2 separate regions of the Homo sapiens genome follow, and region 1 is linked to region 2. The links are contacts of gene promoters, found by promoter capture Hi-C in blood cells and fetal thymus (Javierre and others, 2016). All regions are on one chromosome and are shown on one strand. The core of a region is centred on a gene start or on the middle of the fragment in contact, and the rest is flanking DNA. Distances in the headings are between cores, read along the strand shown. Region 1 has its middle 5.9 kb from the start of GOLGA4. Region 2 holds the start of TRANK1 (tetratricopeptide repeat and ankyrin repeat containing 1).

Region 1 (5,471 bases), core at 1,350-3,849, 290 kb after region 2:
GACCTCATTCTTGAAATAAGATTTACTTCTGAGCCCAGTGTTGTTTTCTCTTCAAATGATTGCTCTGATTCCATTTTTGAGTCATCAGCCATGTAAATATCTCTGGAACGTGTCATGTAAACAAATGCAGAACTGTTAAAAATTAAGTTGGGCCGGGCGCAGTGGCTCACGCCTGTAATCTCAGCACTTTGGGAGGCCGAGGCGGGCGGATCACGAGGTTAGGAGATCGAGACCATCCTGGCTAACACAATGAAACCCTGTCTCTATTAAAAATACAAAAAATTAGCCGGGCGCAGTGGCCAGTGCCTGTAGTCCCAGCTACTTGGGAGGCTGAGGCAGGAGAATGGCGAGAACCCAGGAGGCGGAGCTTGCAGTGATCCGAGATCGCGCCACTGCACTCCGGCCTGGGTGAAAGAGCAAGACTCCGTCTCAAAAAAAAAAAAAAAAAATTAAGTTGAACAGCTTAAAAATATTAGCAAACTGTGACTCAGAGAAGTGAAGGAAGTGTTAAACACAGCTGGAGACCAGGAAAGAGGGCAAGAAGTCCTGGAGTCACTTTCTAGTTCTATCACTGAGATCATATTACTATGGACAAGTCATTTTTTGGTTCTTTGTGTCTATTTGTCAAACAGAGCCAATAAGAGTAAGAAGTAGCTCTTCACTTTTCCATAGTTTATTTACTTTATGCCAGTAATGGGCATTAAATTAACAACAAACATTTGTTTAAATTTTTAAATTTTAAATTAAAAAAAAATTTTTTTTTGAGACGGAGTCTTGCTCTGTCACCCAGGCTGGAGAGCAGTGGTGCGATCTCAACTCACTGCAACCTCTGTGTCCCAGGTTCAAGCAATTCCCCTGCCCCAGCCTCCCAAGTAGCTGGGATTACAGGCATGTGACACCACGCCCGGCTAAGTTTTATATTTTCAGTAGAGATGGGGTTTCACCATGTTGGTCAGGATGGTCTTGAACTTCTGACCTCATGATCTGCCCACCTCAGCCTCCCAAAGTGCTAGGATTACAGGCGTGAGCCTGTAACAACAAACATTTTTAAAAACCCTCTAAAGATAAGTTATACCAGGCTGAAAAGTTGGCTAAATTCCAGAGAGTCTAAGTTTAGACTCTGATGTGTAGAACTTTCTTCCATGAGAGGTTTTCCAACTGTTTTATAATTAAAATTTACATAGCCTTACAATATTCTCCTGTAAAAGTAAATATTAACAACATAACATTTCGAAGCTTTCTAATGAAGTATATTAAAACAATATAGTAATACAAATATTTCAATTTCTACATCTTTGTTACTTGTTACAACAAAAGTCTCTCTTCTCCCACCTCCATATCTTGAGTAGAACTGTAATGAAAGGAAGTAAGAGCTGGGGTCATAAAATATGTGACACCTACCCTAAATTCAACTCATTCCCCCCTCTCCCCCAACTCCCATCCCGTAAAACCCCTTGGAAGCATAAGCATCAAGATCCCCAGGGAACTGCAGTCATGCTGTCCAGGCTGAGACCAGTAACAAATGGAGAAGTGTCCCATAGCAGAGAGGTGATTTAGCAAAAGTAAAGAGACAGTGAGAAGAACACATAACTTGGAAGATGAAGGACTATTTTACTTCCCTAAATATACTTAGAGGGAATTGTCCCTTAGGGGAAAAGGAAGAGCAAATATCTGGGTTACATGAATTGTGTAATACAATGTGAAAGAACTATGATAACATACACACTTAAGATGACGTTTTAACATTGCTTATAATTAAATAAATGGAAACTACAACAAAAGTAAAATACGATTCACCATCTTTTTGACTGACAAAAAATTAAAAACATATTCATAAGGGCATTTCCCACACTATCAGTAGAAATATAAATTGCTATACATTTTGGAGATCAAGTTGGCATTAATCATGCTCATTGGATGGAACTCTCAATTATACTTCTAGAAATCCATTATTTTCTTTTTTCTTTTTTCTTTTTTTTTTTTTTTTGAGACGGAGTCTCGCTCTGTCGCCAGGCTGGAGTGCAGTGGCACCATCTCGGCTCACTGAAACCTTGGACTCCCTGGTTCAGGTGATTCTCCAGCCTCAGCCTCCCGAGTAGCTGGGACTACAGGGGCGCACCACCATGCCAGGTTAATTTTTGTATTTTTAGTACAGACGGGGTTTCACCACGTTGGCCAGGAGGGTCTCAATCTCCTGACCTCGTGATCCACCTGCCTTGGCCTCCCAAAGTGCTAGGATTACAGACGTGAGCCACCACTCCCGGCCAGAAATCCATTATTTTCTACAGAAACATACACACTAGTATACAAACATTTATTTATAAAGTTGCTCACTTTAATAGTTTTTTATTAGCAAAAAACAGGAGAGAAGCTAAATGCCTACCAATTAGAAATCTTAAATTATAATTCATACATAGTATAAAATACTATGCAGCCATTAAAGGGATTGAAATACATATACTGATTAGAAATGATATTCATGGCATATTAATTGAAGAAAGCAAGATATGGATTTTGTATAATCAATTTTTCATAAAACAAAACTAAATATATTTATGTATAATTAAATGTATATATTTCATATATTTTATGTATAGATAATTAAATGTATATATTTTATAAATACAGAAAAATTAAAAAAACGAAAAATGAATTACTAATAGAGGTTATTTGCAGGAACCAGATTACATTTGTTACAGTGAGCATATTACTTTTGTAACAAAAGAAGATAAAAATTCAGTGTGATACATACATTAACAGCATGTAAGACTGAGGCTGTATAGAGGAGAGCATGATTAACTCCACTGATATGTGTGTGTCGGGGGTGGTTTGGGGAGTGGTATTAGAGAATGCTTGAAAGAGATTATGAAATATGAGCACAGCATTGTCCAGGGTAGAGAGGCAAAGTGGAAAAGGAAGAAAGGTACAGTCAAGGAGGACAATGAGTACACTGCCGTACTCATGATTTTCACAACTGCTCTATATAATTTGTAGACCAAAAAAAAGAAAGGCAAGCACGTATATAAAAGCAGGTTGTGGGCCAGGTGTGGTGGCTCACGCCTGTAATCCCAGCACTTTGGGAGGCTGAGGCAGGCGGATCACCTGAGGTCAGGAGTTCGAGACCAGCCTGGCCAACATGGCAAAACCGTCTCTACTGAAAATACAAAAATTAGCGGGGCGTAGTGGCATATGCCTATAATCCCAGCTACTAGGGAGGCTGAGGCAGGAGAATCGCCTGAATCCAGGAAGTAGAGGTTGCAGTGAGCCGAGATCATGTCACTGCACTCTGGCCTGAGTGACAGACTGAGACACCATCTCAAAAAAAAATAAAATAAAATAAAAGCAGGATGTGGCTAGGTGTGGCGGCTCACACCTGTAATCTCAGAACATCAGGGAGGCTGAGGCATGTGGAACACCTGAGCCCAGGTGTTGGAGACTAGCCTGGGCAACACAGTGAGACCCTGTCTCTCTCTCTCTCTCTTAAAAAAAGAAAAAGCAGAATGTGCCAAGGGAACCCTGAGTTAATTTGACATTTCTGGAACTTTGAAGTGTGAAGAGTGGCCAGGGTTTAGTAAGAGGGAAAGCAGGAGCCAGGCTGCTGAGGGCTTCTTGTACTGCCTGGTAGCACGAACACTGTTATGTAGGACAAGGTGACCACTGATGGGGTTGCAGCAGGAGAGTAACATCAGCTATGTGGAAGATGGATTGGAAAGAAGCAAAACTGGAAACTGGGGGGCCATTTAAATGATAAGCTATAATGAAGACTGAAACTAGTGGCGGGGTAAATTAGGAAAGCAGATGGATTTCAGAAGTATTTCAGAGGAAAATACACAAGACTTAGTGATTCTCTGGATATGGGTGATGTATAGAGAGAGATGTCTTGATTGACTTCCAAACTTTTGGCTTTGGTAACTGGGAAGATGGAGATTACACCAGCCAAGGTAGAAAATATAGATGAAAAAACAAGCTTATGAAAAGGAGAAGCAGCAAGAGGGTAAGAGGAAACACAGAAGGGACAAGCCTGATGGTGATGGTAGAGGGGTAGTAGCAGATGATTTTGTTTTTGGAGATGTTGAAGGTGAGATGCCTGTGGGCCATTAAGGAGGGCCATTAAGGGAAGTTGCCCAGTTGGCCATTAAGGCAAGTGGATGTATTAAGATTAATTGTTTTTTTTTCCCCCATTGGTAGTGTATTTAAAAAAACAAAACCCTGGCATAGTGGCTCACTCCTGTAATCCCAGCAATTTGGGAGGCGGAGGTGGACGAATCACTTGAGGTCAGAAGTTTGAGACCAGTCTGGCCAACGTGGTGAAATCCCGTCTTTACTAAAAATACAAAAATTAGTTGGCTTGGTGGCACAGGCCTGTAGTCCCAGCTACTCATGAGGCTGAGGCAGGAGAATTGCTTGAACCCAGGTGGCGGAGGTTGCAGTGAGCCGAGATCGCGTCACTGCACTCCAGCCTGGGCAACAGAGTAAGACTCTGTTTAAAAAAAAAAACAAAAAATACTAACTCTGTAGAAATGTAGTGTCAGGCCCTGTACTAGCACTGACTGGGATGCATGACAGACATAGTTCTTGGCCCTGCTCAACCTGAGAGCCCAGTGGAGATGCTATAGTCTAGAGCAGGGGTGTCTAATCTTTTTGCTTCCCTGGACCACACTGGAAGAATTGGCTTGGGCCACACATAAAATACACTAACAATAGCTGATAGCCCCCCCCAAAAAAATCACAAAAAAATCTCATAATGTTTTCAGAAAGTTTATGAATTTGTATTGGGCCACATTCAAAGCCATCCTGTGCCACATGCAGCCTATGGGGCCGTGGGTTGGACAAGCTTGATCTAGAGCTCAGGGGAAAGGTGTAGGCTGGAGTTCTCAACATACAGAGGGAGAGCGTTATGAGTGAGAATTAAACTCTTAGAATTGATAAGTTTCATTTACTGTGAATTGTACGCTTTACGCATATCATCTCATTTGAACTTCACAACAATCCTATGAAATAGTATTAAATTATTAAAGATGAGGAAAATGAAATGCAGAGAGCTAAGACTCAGAGGTCACAATCTGGCCTTTGGGCTGAATTTTATTCTAAGAGTTGTTTTGTTGCGTTGATTTAAAAATGCCTCTAGATGTGTTCACACTGTCATTTGTTACCTTCCTACATTTTCCATTGTCTTAAATCCTATGTATATGTGCTTTACTCATAACCTCTTGTTCCCTTTAGGCATTTGATTTTGTATACTGTGGTTTGCTTAAGTGCCAAAGGTTAAAGAACTAGAAAATGGATGACTTTTTTTATTTTTTATTTTTTGAGACAGAGTTTCGCTCTTGTTGCCCAGGCTGGAGTGCAGTGGCACGATCTCAGCTCACTGCCACCTCTGCCTCCCAGGTCCAAGCGATTCTCCTGCCTCAGCCTCCTGAGTAGCTGGGATTACAGGCATCTGCCACCATGCCTTGTTAATTTTTTTTGTA
Region 2 (5,023 bases), core at 72-2,571:
AGCAGGAGCGCATACCTACGCTGGGAACACAAGGCTTTAATCCCAGCTATTCCTTCCCGCATAAGGACTAACTGAGCCAGCAGCAACTGGGTTGGAGCAGATAGGGGAACTAGAGACCTCAGAGCCCCATTCTCTTTCTGCTTCTTAAATTTTTTTTTCTTTTATTTTCCAAATTGCACACTTCCATAAAAATTTTCCTAGGAAGCACCAAAGCTTTCAACTGCCCAGAAACACCCCGATCTGGGAGAAAAGGTGGCTTGAGCTGCACCTCAAAGATGGGCTCTATCTCAGCCGGGTTGCAAGTGCACAGGGCTCCCCGCGGGACGGAGACAGGGAGTTGGGAGGAAACGCAACGCGCCTCCCAGGCAACAGACTCCGAGCTCCGGTTCGGAAACGCTCCGAGGCAGAAGCAAGGGCTTCTAAGGGCTCCGCTTCCCAGCCTTGGGTCCCTACTACTACCTTCCCCCTAGACTCGGTGAGCCCAGGCTGATGGACCGTGCAGTCCAGTTTGAGCCAGCCCAGCAGCCCTCAATCGGGCGGGCAGGGAAGAAGGCCTCCTACTGCCGGGAAGAGGCCAGCGCGCTCCAAGTTCCCCGCAAATTCCGCCCTTCCCGCCTGGCACGGTTCCCTTGCACCGCTGTGCTCCGCTCCCAGGTTTCTGCCCGCCAAGAATGCTTGCCCCGGGGGCGCGCTCGCTGGTCAGGAACCTGTCGGCAGCCCCCGGGAACCCCTGAGGATGCGGAGGTGGGCCCGAGAGCTGCGGCTTCGATGCCGGGGTGGGAGCTAGGCAGGCCGCGCGCCGCCGCAGTCCTGTCGCAGCGCGTGCCCTGGTCCCTCCGGACCGAAAAGGCCGAAGCCGTCCCCCGCGACCGACCCCGCGCAACTGGCTCGGGTCTGCACCTAGATGGCTGTGGGCCCCACAGGGATGGCCGGGCGGGCCCGTTCGGCCGCTACCTCAGGGTCGCCAGTCCCCGCGCGCGGCCGCCTCCCGCCAGGAAGGGTGGCGGGCCCGGAAGGCCAGAGATGCCCCAGTGCTTCCCGCGCCGCTACGCACCTAGCTGCCCGCGGGTCCCACATGGCTGCGGCCGGAGGGTCCGCACCAGGACCGCCGCCGCCTGGGGAAGCGCTTCCCTGTGGGCAGGGCGCGGCGGGCAGTGCGGAAGCCCGAAAGCTACCGGAGCCCGGGGCAGGGGCGGCGCGATGCAGAGGCGGCGTTCGGGGGCCCCCAGCTGCCTGCGGCTCGGCTACCCAGCCGCGATCAGAGGGGGCGGGGGACGCAGGAACCCCGGCGTCCGGGCGGTGTGCAGCCGCAGACCTATTCCAAGTTTCCACGTAGTTGCGAGAGCCCAAAAACTGTCACGTGCACGTCGCTGCTGAGTGGGAGGAGGTGTTTGTCATCGCGTTCAAAAGGGGCGTTTCGGTGTCTCCCGTCATGCAAGCAAATGGTATGGCTCTCGGCCGCCTTTGAATAAACGAGTGCTTCGAACCCTTTACCAGGAGGGACTAGGCGCACAACCACCTCCGACACTCCTCGGGCATGCGAGAATTCGGCTTTCCTTAGTGGGGCCCATCAATGTTGTCCGGGAGGTAAAGAAAGTGATCGGCCAACGGCCTCAGCGTGGGTTTTCTCCTTCCCTCGTTCCTCCCTCCAACAAAGGACGTACGGAGAACAAGCCCCCTAGCTCCTACAGATGAGGAGCTCAGGAGTCGGGCGAATATCAAGTACTTACTGTGTGCTTGCCCCTCCACTCTGGGGAGGCTGGGGGTCCGGGAGTGAAGGGGGCAGCGAGACCGCGGGCTGCTCCACGCTCACCGTCGTGTCCATGGAGAGTAAGTGCGCACAGGCCTGAGCAGGCAACAAAATGAGGATCTTGCCTTGTCTTTCCACCTCCCCAGTGATGATCGACAGAGTAGTGGGTCGGAGAGGACCACCTCTGGCTGCTACCTCCCCAGCGGTTCTCGGCCTAGGGAGCCGGTTTGGTCTTCACAGCTTCTCTGGGCCTGGGAGTACTTTCCTACACACCAGAGAATCCACCCAATCAGAGAGCTAAGCCCGCCGCCCTCCCCTGGGGCAAGGTTCGGCCTACACTGCATCCCGGTGGTTCGCCCATCCTTCTGGGGGACCACCACACCAGGCTGCCTGGTGGCAGGGAGGACACCACCAGAGCTTTAGTGAGGGGGACCACACATTTCAGCGAAACAGAGAGGCTTTGGTAACACGTGGACACACCTAAGGCACACAGTATACTTCTCTCCACTGGTCATTCTGCGTTGTGAACTAGTCTCAGTCTAGCTAGTGGTCTCCTTGCTTCTAGAATCTCACAGAGATTTCTGTGCATTGATCTTCCCCAAACATCAGGATGAATCACGTACAGTTCAAAAGCCATCAGTGGCACTCCATTGTCTCCTAGAGATCAGGTTAGGTACCCGGGCATTTGAGATTCTTCTTCACAATCTTGCCCCACATTTCCAATCTTAGCTTCCTCATGCAAACTCTATACTGCAGTGCTTCCCAACCTTAGTTACACAATAGAATCACCTGGGGAGCTTAAAAACAAAAACAAGGCCGGGCGGGTGGCTCACACCCGTAATCCCAGCACTTTGGAAGCCTGAGGCAGGCGGATCACCTGAGGTCGGGAGTTTGAGACCAGCCAGACCAACATGGAGAAACCCCATCTCTACTAAAAATACAAAAAAAAAAAAAAAAACCCAAAAATATGCGTATGTTTGGCTTTTACTCCCAAATTGTCTAATTGACATGGGCGTCAGGAATTTTTGTTTTTGTTTTTGTTTTGAGACAGTCTCACTCTGTTGTTCAGGTGATTCTCCTGCCTCAGCCTCCTGAGTAACTGGGATTACAGGTGCCCGCCGCCTTGCCCGGCTGAATTTTTTAGATTTTTAGTAGAGGCGGGGTTTCACCATGTTAGACAGGCTGGTCTCAAACCCATGACCTCAAGTGATCCACCCACTTAGGCTTCCCCAAGTGCTGGAATTATAGGTGCAAGCCACCACACCCAGCCACATCAGGATTTTTAAAAGACTATAACATGCTGCAAAGTTTGAGAATCACTGCTAGCCACCAAATAGTTGGACTACTTGCTATTTCCCAGACATCATTGGTCCTTTCACTTTTAGGATACTTTCCATATCCTTCCTCCAATACTTTTCCCAACATCCCCCAATTCTATATTTAGGAAAGCACATGCCACCTCTTCTAGCATACCTCTTTCTGTTGGTGATTTTTGGGTTTGTTCAGTTTGGGTTTTGGTTTGGTTTGGTTTTGGTTTGGGGTTTTTTGGTTGCGGGGTATTTTTTGGTTTCGGAGATATTTTTGGTTTTGGGGTTTTTTGTTTTTCTTTTTGTTTTGGGGGGTTATTTTGTTTTGTTGTTGTTGTTGTTGTTATTTTTGCCAACTTCAAGGAGTCTACTTCCAGAAAGCCTAGCCAGGTTCTTACATCAAAGAGAGCAAGCCAAGGGATTGGTGAAGAGAGGAGGATTTAAAAAAACCAAAAAGTCCGTTTACACTTTGACCACTCTTTCACTAGTTTTCATAAGCATCTCAAAATCTTGTTGTCATACATCTTCTTTGGATATCTTCACCATAATCCTCAAAAGTCACGTCAGTATGTTATCTTTCTTTTTAAAACTGTTTCTTCTCTGTCTTCTATTTTTATATTTTTATCAGTTATACATTCACAGTTAAAAGAGCAGGCCTCAGCCAGGCGTGGTGGCTCATGCCTGTAATCCCAGTATTTTGGGAGTCCCAGGTAAGCAGATCCCCTGAGTCAGGAGTTCAAGACCAGCCTGACCACCATGGTAAAACCCCATTTCTACTAAAAATACAAAAATTAGCTGGGCATGGTGGCGCATGCCTGTAATCCCAGCTACTCTGGAGACTGAGGCAGGAGAATCGCTTGAACCTGGGAGGTGGAGGTTGCAGTGAGCCGAGATCATGCCACTGCACTCCAGCCTGGGTAACAGAGCGAGACTCCATCTCAATAAACAATCATAAAAATAAAATAAAAAATAAATAAATAAAAAGAGCAGGCCCCTTTTTCCCTTCCACCTGACTTCTTCCCTAGAAACAACCACTTTTACATCTTTCAGCTGATTATTTTGATGCCTATGCTCATGTCTCTAAATAACGTTTGTATTGCTACTTCTTGTTGTTGGGGCTTTTTTCCCCTCAGTTTTATGCATGATCAGGTAAAATTTTTGAGACTGTGCTTGTCTGAAAACCTTTATCCTTAATATAGTTTGGCTGGGTATAAAATTATCAGCTAGAAATCATTTTCTACCGGGCGTGGTGGCTCACACCTGTAATCCCAGCACTTTGGGAAGCTGAGACAGGCAGATCACCTGAGGTCAGGAGTTCAAGACCAGCTTGGCCAACATGGTGAAAACCTGTCTCTACCAAAAATACAAAAATTAGCCAGTCGTGGTGGTGGGCACTTGTAATCTCAGCTACTCCGGAGGCTGAGGCAGGAGAATCACTTGAACCCAGGAGGTGGAGGCTGCAGTGAGCCAAGATCATGCCACTGCACTCCAGCCTCAGCAACAGAGGGAGACTTTGTCTCAACAAAAAAAAAATAGAAATCATTTTCCTTCAGAATTCTGAAGCTATTACTTCAGTGACTTCTAGCTTCCAGTACTGCTGTTGGGAATTCTGAAAACATTCAATCATCAATCTTATCTATTTATTTAGAGACAGAGTCTCGCTCTGTCACCCAGGCTGGAGTGCAATGGTGCAGTCTCAGTTCACTACAACCTCTGCCTCCTGGGTTCAAGCATCAGTCATCAATCTTTTTATAGGACCTCTTCTTTTTTAAATCTCTGGAAGCATGAAGAATCTTCTTTTCCTCCCCAGTGTTTTGAAATTACACAATGATCTGCTTTGATGTGGGCCCATTCATTGATTCCACTGGGTACTGCGTGGGTTATTTCAGTCTCAACACTCAAGCTCTTCAGTCTGGGAAAATATCTTGAATTATTTTATTGATTTTTTTTTTCCATTTTCTTTCTC

The links. The method cuts DNA at HindIII sites, captures the fragments that hold promoters and counts their contacts. A CHiCAGO score of 5 or more calls a contact.
Region 1: a contact is called between a fragment that was not itself captured here and the fragment with the promoter of TRANK1 in region 2, in 5 of 17 cell types (neutrophils, total CD8 T cells, erythroblasts and 2 more). The highest score is 8.0, in neutrophils.

Annotation. Positions count from the first base shown.
Region 1 is chr3:37,234,623-37,240,093 of GRCh38, forward strand. No RefSeq gene overlaps it. Among named protein-coding and RNA genes, the nearest start is that of GOLGA4, 5.9 kb to the right of the region's middle. The HindIII fragment of the contact is 2,731 bases long and covers 1,235-3,965 here.
Region 2 is chr3:36,943,733-36,948,755 of GRCh38, forward strand. It overlaps TRANK1 (tetratricopeptide repeat and ankyrin repeat containing 1), which reads right to left and starts at 1,322. Exons shown (of 24, transcript NM_001329998.2): 1 at 1,055-1,322. The coding sequence starts at 1,077. RefSeq lists a silencer at 970-1,189 and an enhancer at 1,420-1,489. The HindIII fragment of the contact is 7,723 bases long and covers 212-5,023 here.